2 separate regions of the Homo sapiens genome follow, and region 2 is linked to region 1. Evidence: promoter capture Hi-C in human tissues and cell types (Jung and others, 2019). All regions are on one chromosome and are shown on one strand. The core of a region is centred on a gene start or on the middle of the fragment in contact, and the rest is flanking DNA. Distances in the headings are between cores, read along the strand shown. Region 1 holds the start of PLK3 (polo like kinase 3). Region 2 has its middle 44 kb from the start of LINC01144.

What was found. Contacts are between HindIII fragments. The study calls those that stand out against the background at their distance.
Region 2: a contact is called between a fragment that was not itself captured here and the fragment with the promoter of PLK3 in region 1, in 2 of the 25 tissues and cell types used here (adrenal gland and dorsolateral prefrontal cortex).

Annotation. Positions count from the first base shown.
Region 1 is chr1:44,796,498-44,801,811 of GRCh38, reverse strand. PLK3 (polo like kinase 3) reads right to left here and starts at 1,435. Exons shown (of 15, transcript NM_004073.4): 1 at 1,139-1,435; 2 at 865-972; 3 at 660-776; 4 at 61-190. The coding sequence starts at 1,348. RefSeq lists enhancers at 759-808, 1,579-1,968, 2,019-2,078, 1,763-2,431 and a silencer at 1,199-1,478. The HindIII fragment of the contact is 15,221 bases long and covers 1-5,314 here.
Region 2 is chr1:45,256,864-45,262,100 of GRCh38, reverse strand. No RefSeq gene overlaps it. Among named protein-coding and RNA genes, the nearest start is that of LINC01144, 44 kb to the left of the region's middle. The HindIII fragment of the contact is 5,578 bases long and covers 282-5,237 here.

The DNA of each region.
Region 1 (5,314 bases), core at 186-2,685:
TCCTTCCTCCCTCCCTCCCTCCCTCCCCAACCTCCCATCCTCCAGGCTCAGGAGTCTCACCCAACTTGAGGTCCCGGTGCAAGATGCCGCGCTGGTGCAAGTACTTGAGGCCAGAAAGGATCTGCCGCAGGTAGTAGCGCACTTCTGGCTCCAACAGGGTGTGCCGGGCCTTCCAGATGTGGGCCAGGGACTGCAGAGAGCCACTGCCTCAGCCCCTGGTGAGCCCTCCCTCCCCCTCCCCCTCCATCTGTGCTCCCTGAGGAAGAAACAGGGCCCCAGCTTTGGGTCTTAAGACTGTCTTCTCGGCTGGGTGTAGTGGCTCACGCCTGTAATCCCAGCACTTTGGGAGGCCAAGGCAGGTGTATCACAAGGTCAGGAGTTTGAGACCAGCCTGACCAACAGGGTGAAACCCTGTCTCTACTAAAAATACAAAAATTAGCCGGGCGTGGTGGTGCATGCCTGTAATCCCAGCTACTCAGGAGGCTGAGGCAGGAGAATTGCTTGAACCCGGGAGGCAGAGATTGCAGTGAGCCGAGATCGCGCCACTGCACTCCAGCCTGGGCAACAGAGCAAGACTCCATCTCAAAAAAAAAAAAAAAAAAAAAAAAGACTGTCTTCTCTCCCTCACTCTCATCCCTGCGGGAATCACCATCTTTCACCTTTCGGCTGCAGAGCTCCAAGAAAATGTAGATGTTGTCAGCGTCCTCAAAGTGGTGCGAAAAACGCACGATGTGGCGGTGCTGCAGGTCTCGGTGCAGCTCAATCTCATTTAGGATCTGCGATGAGGGCGCGGAGTCGTCATCCTTCCATGGTTCCCATGCCACCGTCCCCACCCCACCCCTCGCCCGCTGAGCCTGGACCCACCTTCTCGCGCTGATGCGGCTTGGCGACGCGGCTCTGCGGGATGACTTTGACAGCGTAGGCGCTGCCAGTCTCTGTGTCAGTGGCCTCGTAGCAGCGGGCGAAGCCCCCCTGTGAAGAGGGGGCATCAGGCTGGTTGTTCCAGGGGGGCCGAGTCTGGCCCGCGGGCGTCCCCGCGTTGGGGGTCAAGTGCCCACGCCCTGCTCGGCGCCAGAAAAGAGGCCGGCCGGGACCCCCACCTCCACCATCACCACCCCGCGGACGTCCCTCGGCCCACCTTGCCCAACAAGCGGCCTTTGAGGTAGGTGCGGCCGCTGCGCGGGTCCGTGATGAGGCGCCCGGGGTCTGACGTCGGTAGCCCGGCCAGCATCTCCAGCTCAGGTCCGCGCAAGGCACTCGGAGGCGGCCCGGGCCCGGCCGGGGGAGCGGGCGCGGCGGCCGCACGCTGGAAGGGGCGCGGAGACAGGAAACCGGCGGCAGGCTCCATGCGGCCGGCGCGTCGCAGCGCGGTCCCGGCTTCTCGGTTCCGCCCGGCCCCGGCCGCGCGTGGCGCTGCCTGGATTTGCTACGCTGCGCTGGCGCCCAGGGGAGCCCAGCGTTTTATCAATGAACGCCTGCCCCCTCCCCGGCGTCTGGTCACCGAGAGTCCCGCCCCCTTCCTAGCAGCGAGTCGAGGAGAGGCCACTCCCATTCCCGGCCTTACATCACCCAGAAGCTCCTCCCCCACCCAACGCACTGCCAGACCCCGCCTCCTCGCCGCGCCCCGGGGCGCAGCCCGGCAGCTAGTCACCATGCAGGTGCAACCAGGCCGCAGGGGCCAGCTGATCCCTGTCCGCCTCTCACCCCTCCTTGGCCACTGCGAGTCCCGCTCGTGGGGGCCTCTTTCTTTCCCCATCCTTCGGGATGTGTGCTGAAGTCCGAGTGGGGCCCGGGCATCTGGGGGCGTCTCCCCAGCAACTAGATAGATCAGCGTTCCAGCCAGCAGCGGAGAGGCAGGGGCGGCGCTCGCTTTTGCCCGGGCATGTTACCCGACACTCCCCTTTCAGTGTGCCGGACCGCGTGTGTCCCTCGCCCTCGCCCGGGGCCCGGCCCAGTGCTGCCCTCTTTAGGGCCTGGAAGGAAGGCACAGTCTCGCGCCTGGCTTGCCTGGCCCGAGGGCTGCCTTGCCAGGTTTAGGAGTCAAGCAGAGTCTGGAATTTCAAGGCTTTTACCATGCTCCAGGCCACATCTTCCGCTACCCACTTCTACACTCTTGAGGGGCAAATTTCGGGTTCCTCCGGGGTCCGCAATTCCCTTCCTCTGAAAATACCCCCGGGCCTGGGTCAGCAGCCAGAGGCCAGAAAGTGAATGGGAATTGGATTTTCTTTTTTCTTTCTTTCTTTCTTTTTTTTTTTTTTGAGACAGAGTTTCGCTCTTGTTGCCTAGGCTGGAGTGCAATGGCGCGATCTTGGCTCATCGCAAACTCTGCCTCCCAGGTTCAAGCGATTCTCCTGCCTCAGCCTCCCGAGCAGCTGGGATTACAGGCATGCGCCATCACACCCGGCTAATTTTGTATTTTTTTTTTTTTAAGTAGAGACGGGGTTTCTCCATGTTGGTCAGACTGGTCTGGAACTCCCAACCTCAGGTGATCTACCCGCTTCGGCGTCCCAAAGTGCTGGGATTACAGGCGTGAGCCACCTTGCCTGGCTGGGAATTGCATTTTCTCAAATGCTAGACACGGGCACTTGGGCAGCTAGTCTCTGGACCACGTGGACCCCTAGACCCCTGCGCAATGCCCACCCTTCCCAGGGCCAGAGACAGAGGCCCAGGACCACAGGCCTCCTGGCCTTGTCTCTCACCTCTCTGCCCTCCCTCTGTGCCAGCCAATCAATTACCATGCCATTCCTCAAAGATTTATTGAGAGCATCTGCTAAGTGCTGGACACTATCTCGAATAAAACTAATCAAGCTTGCAGCCCTCATTTAGTTTACATTCTGCTTGATGGAAACAGACAATAGGCAAGCAGATAAACAAGGTAATTGCAGGCTGTGAAAAGTGCTATGAAGGAAGAATAAACAGAAGAGCAAATGAAGAGCCTACTTTAGAAAGAGTAGCCAGGAAAGTCAACAAATATTTGCTGAGTACCCAATTTGTGCCAATTTTACCTCCCAAATAGCTCTGATATCTATCCCCTTGGCTCCATCTTCCCCTCACACCCTGGCCTGGGCCACAGTCTCTCTTGTCAGGATGATTGCCACAGCTCCTTGCTGCTCTCCTGGCCTTTGGTCTCATGCCCATTTCATCCCCTCCATATGCTATTAGAGGGATCCCACCCAATCCCTCATCAGACTCACGAGGGCAAACTTCTCCAACCTTGTCCTTCATGACCACTGAAGGGAGACCCACGATAGCCTCAGATGTGGAGAAATACTAGTAGCCAAAATTACTGAGGGGGAGTTGGGGATAGGGATGGGCAGGAAGACCCTAAGTGCCTGCTCAAGAGTCTGGTCTTTATCCTTATAGGTCAGCAGTCTTCCAGAGGGGAGATGGTGGTGGGGCTAGAAAGGACAAATCCCCAGGGTAAATGGATCTGAGGCATTTAGAGAGTCAAAAAGGCATATTCAATTTTGCACCGTTATTTATTTTGTTTTGTTTTGTTTTGTTTGTTTTTTGAGACAGAGTCTTGCTCTGTTACCCAGGCTGGAGTGCAGTGATGCGATCCTGGCTCACTGCAACCTCTGCCTCCCCGGTTCAAGCGATTCTCCTGCCTTAGCCTCCAGAGTAGCCAGGATTACAGGCTCGTGCCACCACGCCCAGCTAATTTTTGTATTTTTTAGTAGAGACAGGGTTTCACCATATTGGCCAGGCTGGTCTCAAACTCCTGACCTTGTGATCCACCCACCTCGGCCCTCCCAAAGTGCTGGGATTACAGGCATAAGCCACTGTGCCTGGCCCAAAATTCGTGTATATATATATATATATATATATTTTTTTTTTTTTTCTTTTTTTTTGAGACAGAGTCTTAAAAAAAAAAGAATCACTTGATCCCAGGAGGGGGAGGTTGCAGTGAGCTGAGATCGTGGCACTGCATTCCAATCTGGCAACAGAAGGAGACTCCATCTAAAAAATAATAATAATAATAAAATAAATAAATTTTGGGGCCGTGCAGTGGTGGCTCATGACTGTAATCCCTGCACTTTGGGAGGCTGAGACAGGCAGATCGCTTGAGTCCAGGAGTTTGAGACCAGCCTGGGAAGCATAGTGAAACCCCCGTCTCTACCAAAAAAATGCAAAAATTGGGCCAGCCGCAGTGGCTCATGCCTGTAATCCCAGCACTTTGGGAGGCCGAGGCAGGCAGATCACCTGAGGCCAGGAGTTCGAAACCAGCCTGACCAATGTGGTGAAACCCCGTCTCTACTAATAATACAAATATTAGTCTGGCGTGGTGGCACCCACCTGTAATCCCAGCTACTCAGGAGGCTGAGGCAGGAGAATCGCTTGAACCTGGGAGGTGGAGGTTGTAGTGAGCCAATATCGCCCCATTGCACTCCAGCCTGGGTGACAGAGTGAGACTCTATCTCAAAAAAAAAAAAAAAAAAGTTAGCTAGGTGGGCATGGTGGCAGGCGCCTGTAATCCCAGCTACTCTGGAGGCTGAGGCAGGAGAATCGCTTGAACCCAGGAAGCAGAGGTTGCAATAAACCAAAATCACGCCACTGCACTCCAGCCTGAGTATGACAGAGTGAGACTCCATCTGAAAAAAAAAATACAAAATTTATCAGGGCGTGGTGGCTCACGCCTGTAGTCCCAGCTACTCAGGAGGCTGAGGCATGAGAATCACTTGAACCCAGGAGGTGGAGGTTGCACTGAGCTGAGATCACACCACTGCACTCCAGCCTGGGTGACAGAGAGAGATTCTGTCTCCAAAACAAAACAAAACAAAAATTAGCTGGGTGTGGTGGTGCATGCCTGTAATCCCAGCTACTTGGGAGGCTGAGGTGGGAGAATCACTTGAGCCCTGGAGGTCTAGGCTACAGTGAGTCATGATCATGCTGCTGCACTCCAGCCTGGGAGACACAGAGCTTGTCTCAAAAATATATATAGGGCCGGGCGTGGTGACTCATGCCTGTAATCCCAGCACTGGGAGGCCGAGGCCGGCAGATCACCTGAGGTCAGGAATTCGAGACCAACCTGGCCAACATGGTGAAACTCCATCTCTACTAAAATACAAAAATTAGCCGGGCATGATGGCAGGTGCCTGTAATCCCAGCTACTTGGGAGGCTGAGACAGAATTGCTTGGACCCGAGAGACAGTGGTTGCAGTGAGCCGAGCTCGTGCCACTGCACTCCAGCGTGGGTGGCTGAGCGAGACCCCATCTCAAAAAAATATACATATATTTATATGTATATATTTTTAATATATATTTATATATTTTTATATTATATTTATATATCTTTATATATTTATATATTATA
Region 2 (5,237 bases), core at 1,821-4,320, 460 kb before region 1:
ATTCTCTAGTACCTCAGCCTCCCTTTCACATAAGCCAAGACTCCTCCTGCAGCCAGATAAAGCCTTCAAGCCAAGAGATGCAGGTGTTAGAGGTGTATGGCATCCACTGTTCTCAGGGGCTGCAGGTGCCCTCTGGGCTGGGCCAAGGGCAACGCCTCCATTTTGGCAGCAATGTATGAGAGTTCCAGTTTCTCCAAATCTTCGAATCTTGCTATTGCTACACTTTTAAATCTTAGCCAATTTGATGGCATAAATTAGCGTATTTCACTGTTGTTTTAATTTGCATTGTAATTTTAAAGTTTATTAATCTTTTATTTTATAGTTAGAAGATATGGAATCTTGTTTAAGAAATCTTACTCTATCCTGAGGTAAAAAAATTCTCCTATATTTTCTTCTAAATGATTTATACAGGTTTTTCTTCACATTCAAGTCCTTGACATGGAGTTAATTTTTTGGGTTTTTTTGAGACAGAGTCTTGCTCTGTCGCCCAGGCTGGAGTGCGGTGGTGCAATCTCGGCTCACTGCAGCCTCCACCTCCCGGGTTCCAGTGATTCTCCTGCCTCAGCCTCCTGGATAGCTGGGATTATAGGCACACGTCACCATGCCTGGCTAATTTTTGTATTTTTAGTAGAGATGGGGTTTCACCATGTTGGTCAGGCTGGTCTTGAACTCCTGACCTCAGGTGATCTGCCTGCCTTGGCCTCCCAAAGTGCTGGGATTGCAGGCATGAGCCATGGTGCCTGGCTGGAGTTGATTTTTTATAAATGCTATGAGGTAGGGATCAATATGGGTAACTGACTGCCCAAAAATCATTTATTGAATAACTCAACATTTCCCCCACTGATTCATAAGGCTACCTTATAATATATCAAGTTTCCATTTAGATGTATGTCTGTTTCAGGGCTTTTTAATTCTATTTTTTGGTGGACATTTAGGTCCTTATCTTACTAGACTTCTTGGCATTGGATCCTGTTGACCCTCTCCTAAACATTGTACTCTCCTGACTTCAACAATGGTTCTTGTCTTTCCTCCTTTCTCTGACTGCCTTGTAAATGTTGGTTTTCCTCAGGGGCCATTCTCTCTACACAGCTTTTCTCACTCTACACCACAGGGAGAAATATTTTTTGCCTAAAAGCGAACTCAAGGAAAACAGAAATGTTTACTGGGTGCAGCTGTTTAATTATGCTTTTAATTTCAGAATAGTTTCAAATGTAAACAAAAGTTGTGAAGATAGGGCAGAGAATTCTCACATACCCCTCACTCAGTTTCCCCTATTGTTAACATCCTATATTACCATGGGACATATATCACAACTAAGAAATCAACATTGGTACGTGACTATAAATTAAACACTTTATTAGCATTTCACCAGTTTTCCCCCCAAAGTCCATTTGCTGTTTGAGGATCCTCTTCAGGACACCACATTACATTCTGTCATCATGTCTCCCTAGCTTCTTCTGGTCTGTGATAGTTTCTCATACTTTGTTGTCCTTGATGACTTTGACAGTTTTGAGAAGCACTGGCCAGGGTTTGTTTGTTTTTGCAAATGTCCGTATTTGTCCAGTGTTTTTCTCATGGTTAGACTGGGGTCATAGGTTTTGGAAAAAATCACAGAGGTGAAATACCATTCTCATCCCATCATATTGTTACTGAACCAGGCTTCTTCTTCCTGTCATGCAGTATGTCAATCACTGAGATGATGTGTTTTGCTGCAGAGGAAGAGTTTATTCATGAGGCAGCCAAACAAGGATATGGGAAAACAGGTCTCAAATCTGCCTCCCTGAAGATGGAATTTTAGGGATATTTATAGAATAGAGGAGCAAGATGGTCCAAAGCATGGGGAAAGGTGATCGTGGTAAGGAAAACTGAGGTAATTGGTCATCTGTGCAAGCATAACAGACTTCATGGCTCTTCATAGAATATATGTTCAGAAAATTACAGCATTAGCATGATCTGAGGGTGGAGTTTTTGGCCCTCTGACATCAAAAGGTGACCCATCAGATGCTCACACAGGCCCAGTTGAAAGGTTGGTGGTCTCAGCTGGCTTGAACTGGACAAGAACTGACTCTCTAAGTTCCTGAAAAACAACTTAAGCAACCATTACCATGGTGATCTATACATCAGAAATGTTATCTACAAGAAAGCTAGTGGAAATTTAGTTATATATTACTTAGCAATGTGACTTTTAGCTATATAGGTTTTAAAATCAACTAAAAGCAAATTAATAAAGACAAGTAAGGTAAGTTAAATTTGGTGGGCCTAATTGGGTTTGTCCTCAGTTTCAATATCAAGGGTACATTGCCATTAACATGAGGTATTAGTCTTCTCTCACACTGCTATGAAGAAATACCAGAGACTGGGTAATTTATAAAGAAATGAGGTTTAATTGGCTGATGGTTCTGCAGACTGTATAGGAAGCATGGCAGCTTCTGGAGAGGCCTCAGGAAACTTATAATCATGGTGGAAGGTGAAGGTGAAGCAAGGCATCTCACATGGCCAGACCAAGAGGAAGAGAGAGAGGGGGAAGGTGCTACACACTTTTAAACAACCAGATCTCATGAGATCTCACTCACTATCATGAGAACAGCAACCAGGGGGATGGTATTAAGCCATCCATGAGAAACACTCTCATGATTCAATTACCTTCCACCAGGCCCCACCTCCAACATTGCGGATTACAATTTGACATGAGAGTTGGACAGGAACACAGATCCAAACCATATCATTCTACCCCCAGCCCCTCCCAAATCTCATGTCATTTTCACATTTCAAGGTACAACCATGCGTTCCAACAGTCCCCCAAAATTTTAACTTATTCTAGCATTAACCCAAAAGTCCAAAGTCCAAAGTCCAAAGTCTCATCTGAAACGGGAAGTCCCTTCCACCTATGAGTCCGTAAAATCAAAAACAAGTTAGTTACTTCCAGAGACAGTGGGGGTATAGCTGTTGTGTAAATCAAGCTTGTCCAACTCATGGCCCATGGGCCACATGCAGCCCAGGACAGCTTTGGACATGGCTCAACACAAGTTTCTTAAAACACTATGAGATATGTTTTGCAATTTTTTTTTAGCTTATCAGCTCTCGTTAGTGTTAGTGTATTTTATATGTGGACCAAGACTATTCTTCTTCCACTGTGGCTCAGGGAAGCCAAAAGATTGAACACCCCTGGGGTAAATACTCCTATTTCAAAAAGGAGAAATCAGCCAAAAGAAAGGGGCTACAGGCACCATGCAAGTCCAAAACCCAGCAGGGCAACCATTAAATCTTAAAGCTCAAAAATAATCTCCTTCGAATTCATGTCTCACATCCAGGGCACTCTGATGCAAGGGAAGGGGCTCCCAAGGCCTTGGGAAGCTCTGCTCCTGTGGCTTTGCTGGTTCAGCCCCCAGAACAACTGCTCTCAGGGGCTGGCATTGAGTGCCTATGGCTTTCCAGGCACAGGGTGCAAGCTGCCAGTGGATCTTCCATTCCAGGGTCTGGAGGATGATAACCCTCTTCTCACAGCTCCACTAGGCAGTGCCTCAGTGGGGACTCTGTGTGTGGGGTCCAACCTCATATTTTCCCTCTGCATCACCCTAGAAGAGGTTCATCATGAGGGCTCCACTCCTGCAGCAGGCTTCTGCCTGGACATACAGGGTTTTCCATACATCCTCTGAAATCTAGGCGGAGGCTCCCAAGCCTCAACTTGTGTACTCTGTGCACCTGTAGGCTTAACACCATGTGCAAACTGTCAAGGCTTATTACTTGCACTCTCTGAAGCAGTGGCCCAAGCTGTACTTGGGCCCTTTTTAGCCACAGCTAGAGTTAGAGTGGCTGGCACACAGGCAGCAGTGTCCCAAGGCTGTCCTGTGCCTGGCCCACAAACCATTTTGTCCTCCTAGACCTCCAGGCCTGTGATGGGAGGGGATGCCTTGAAGGTCTCTGAAATGCCTTTGAAGCTCTTCCCCCATTGTCTTGGATATTATCACTTTGCTCCTCTTTACTTATGAAAATTTCTGCAGCCTGCTTGAATTCCTTTCCTGAAAATGGGCCTTTCTTTTCTACCACATGGCCAGGCTGCAAATGTTCCAAATTTTAATGCTCTGCTTCCCCTTTAAATATAAGTTTTAGTTTCAGGTCATTTCTTTGTTCATACATATGAGCTATAGGTTGTTAGAAGCAGCCAGGCCACGTCTCAAACACTTTTCTGCTTAGAACTTTCTTCCACCAGATACCCTAAATCATCTCTTTCAAGTTCAAAATTCCATAGATCCCTAGGGCAGGGGCACAATCCAACCAAGCTCTTTGCTAAAGCATAGCAAAAGTGACCTTTGCTCCAGTTCACGATAAGTTCCATATTTCCATCTGAGACCTCCTCAGCCTGTCCAATATCTGTCCATGTCACTATCAGCATTTTGGTCACAACTATTCAACAAGTCTCTAGAACGTTCCAAATTTTCCCTCATCATCTTTTCTTCTTCTGAACCCTCCACACTCTTCCAACCTCTGCCCATTACCCAATTCCAAAGTTGCTTCCACATTTTCAGGTGTCTTTATAGCAATGCCCCACTCCTCAATACCAACTTTCTGTATTAGTCTATTCTTGCACAGCTATAAAGAAATACCTGAGACTGGGTAATTTATAAAGAAAAGAGGTTTAATTGGCTCATTGTTCTGCAGGCTGTACAGGAAGCATAGCAGCTTCTTGGGAGACCTCAGAAAGCTTCCAATTATGGTGGATGGTGAAGGGAGAGCAAGCATGTCACATGGTGAAAGCAGGAGCAAGAAAGAGAGGGGAAGGAGGTGCCACACACTTTTAAATGACCAGGTGTCACAAGAACTCACTTACTATGGTGAGGACAGCACCAAAATGATGGTGCCAAACCACTCACAAGAAGTTCACCCCCATCATATAATCACCTCCCACCAGGCACCACCTCCAACATTGGGGATTACAATTCAACATGAGACTTGGGCCGGGACACAGATCCAAACCATATCACATGACCTGTCAGTGATGATGTTAACCTTGATAACCAAGCTGAGTTAGTATTTGACAGGTTTCCTTACTATATAGTTGTCCTCCACCTCTCCTCTCTTGTTGCATTTAAAAATTTTTAAATGGAATAAAAAATGAAATGGAAAACTAAATGAAGCTTTATTAAATACCATGGGGGAGTGTGCAGGTGCAGTGGCTCATGCCTGTAATCCCAGCACTTTGGGACACCAAGGCAGGTGGATCACTCGAGCTCAGGAGT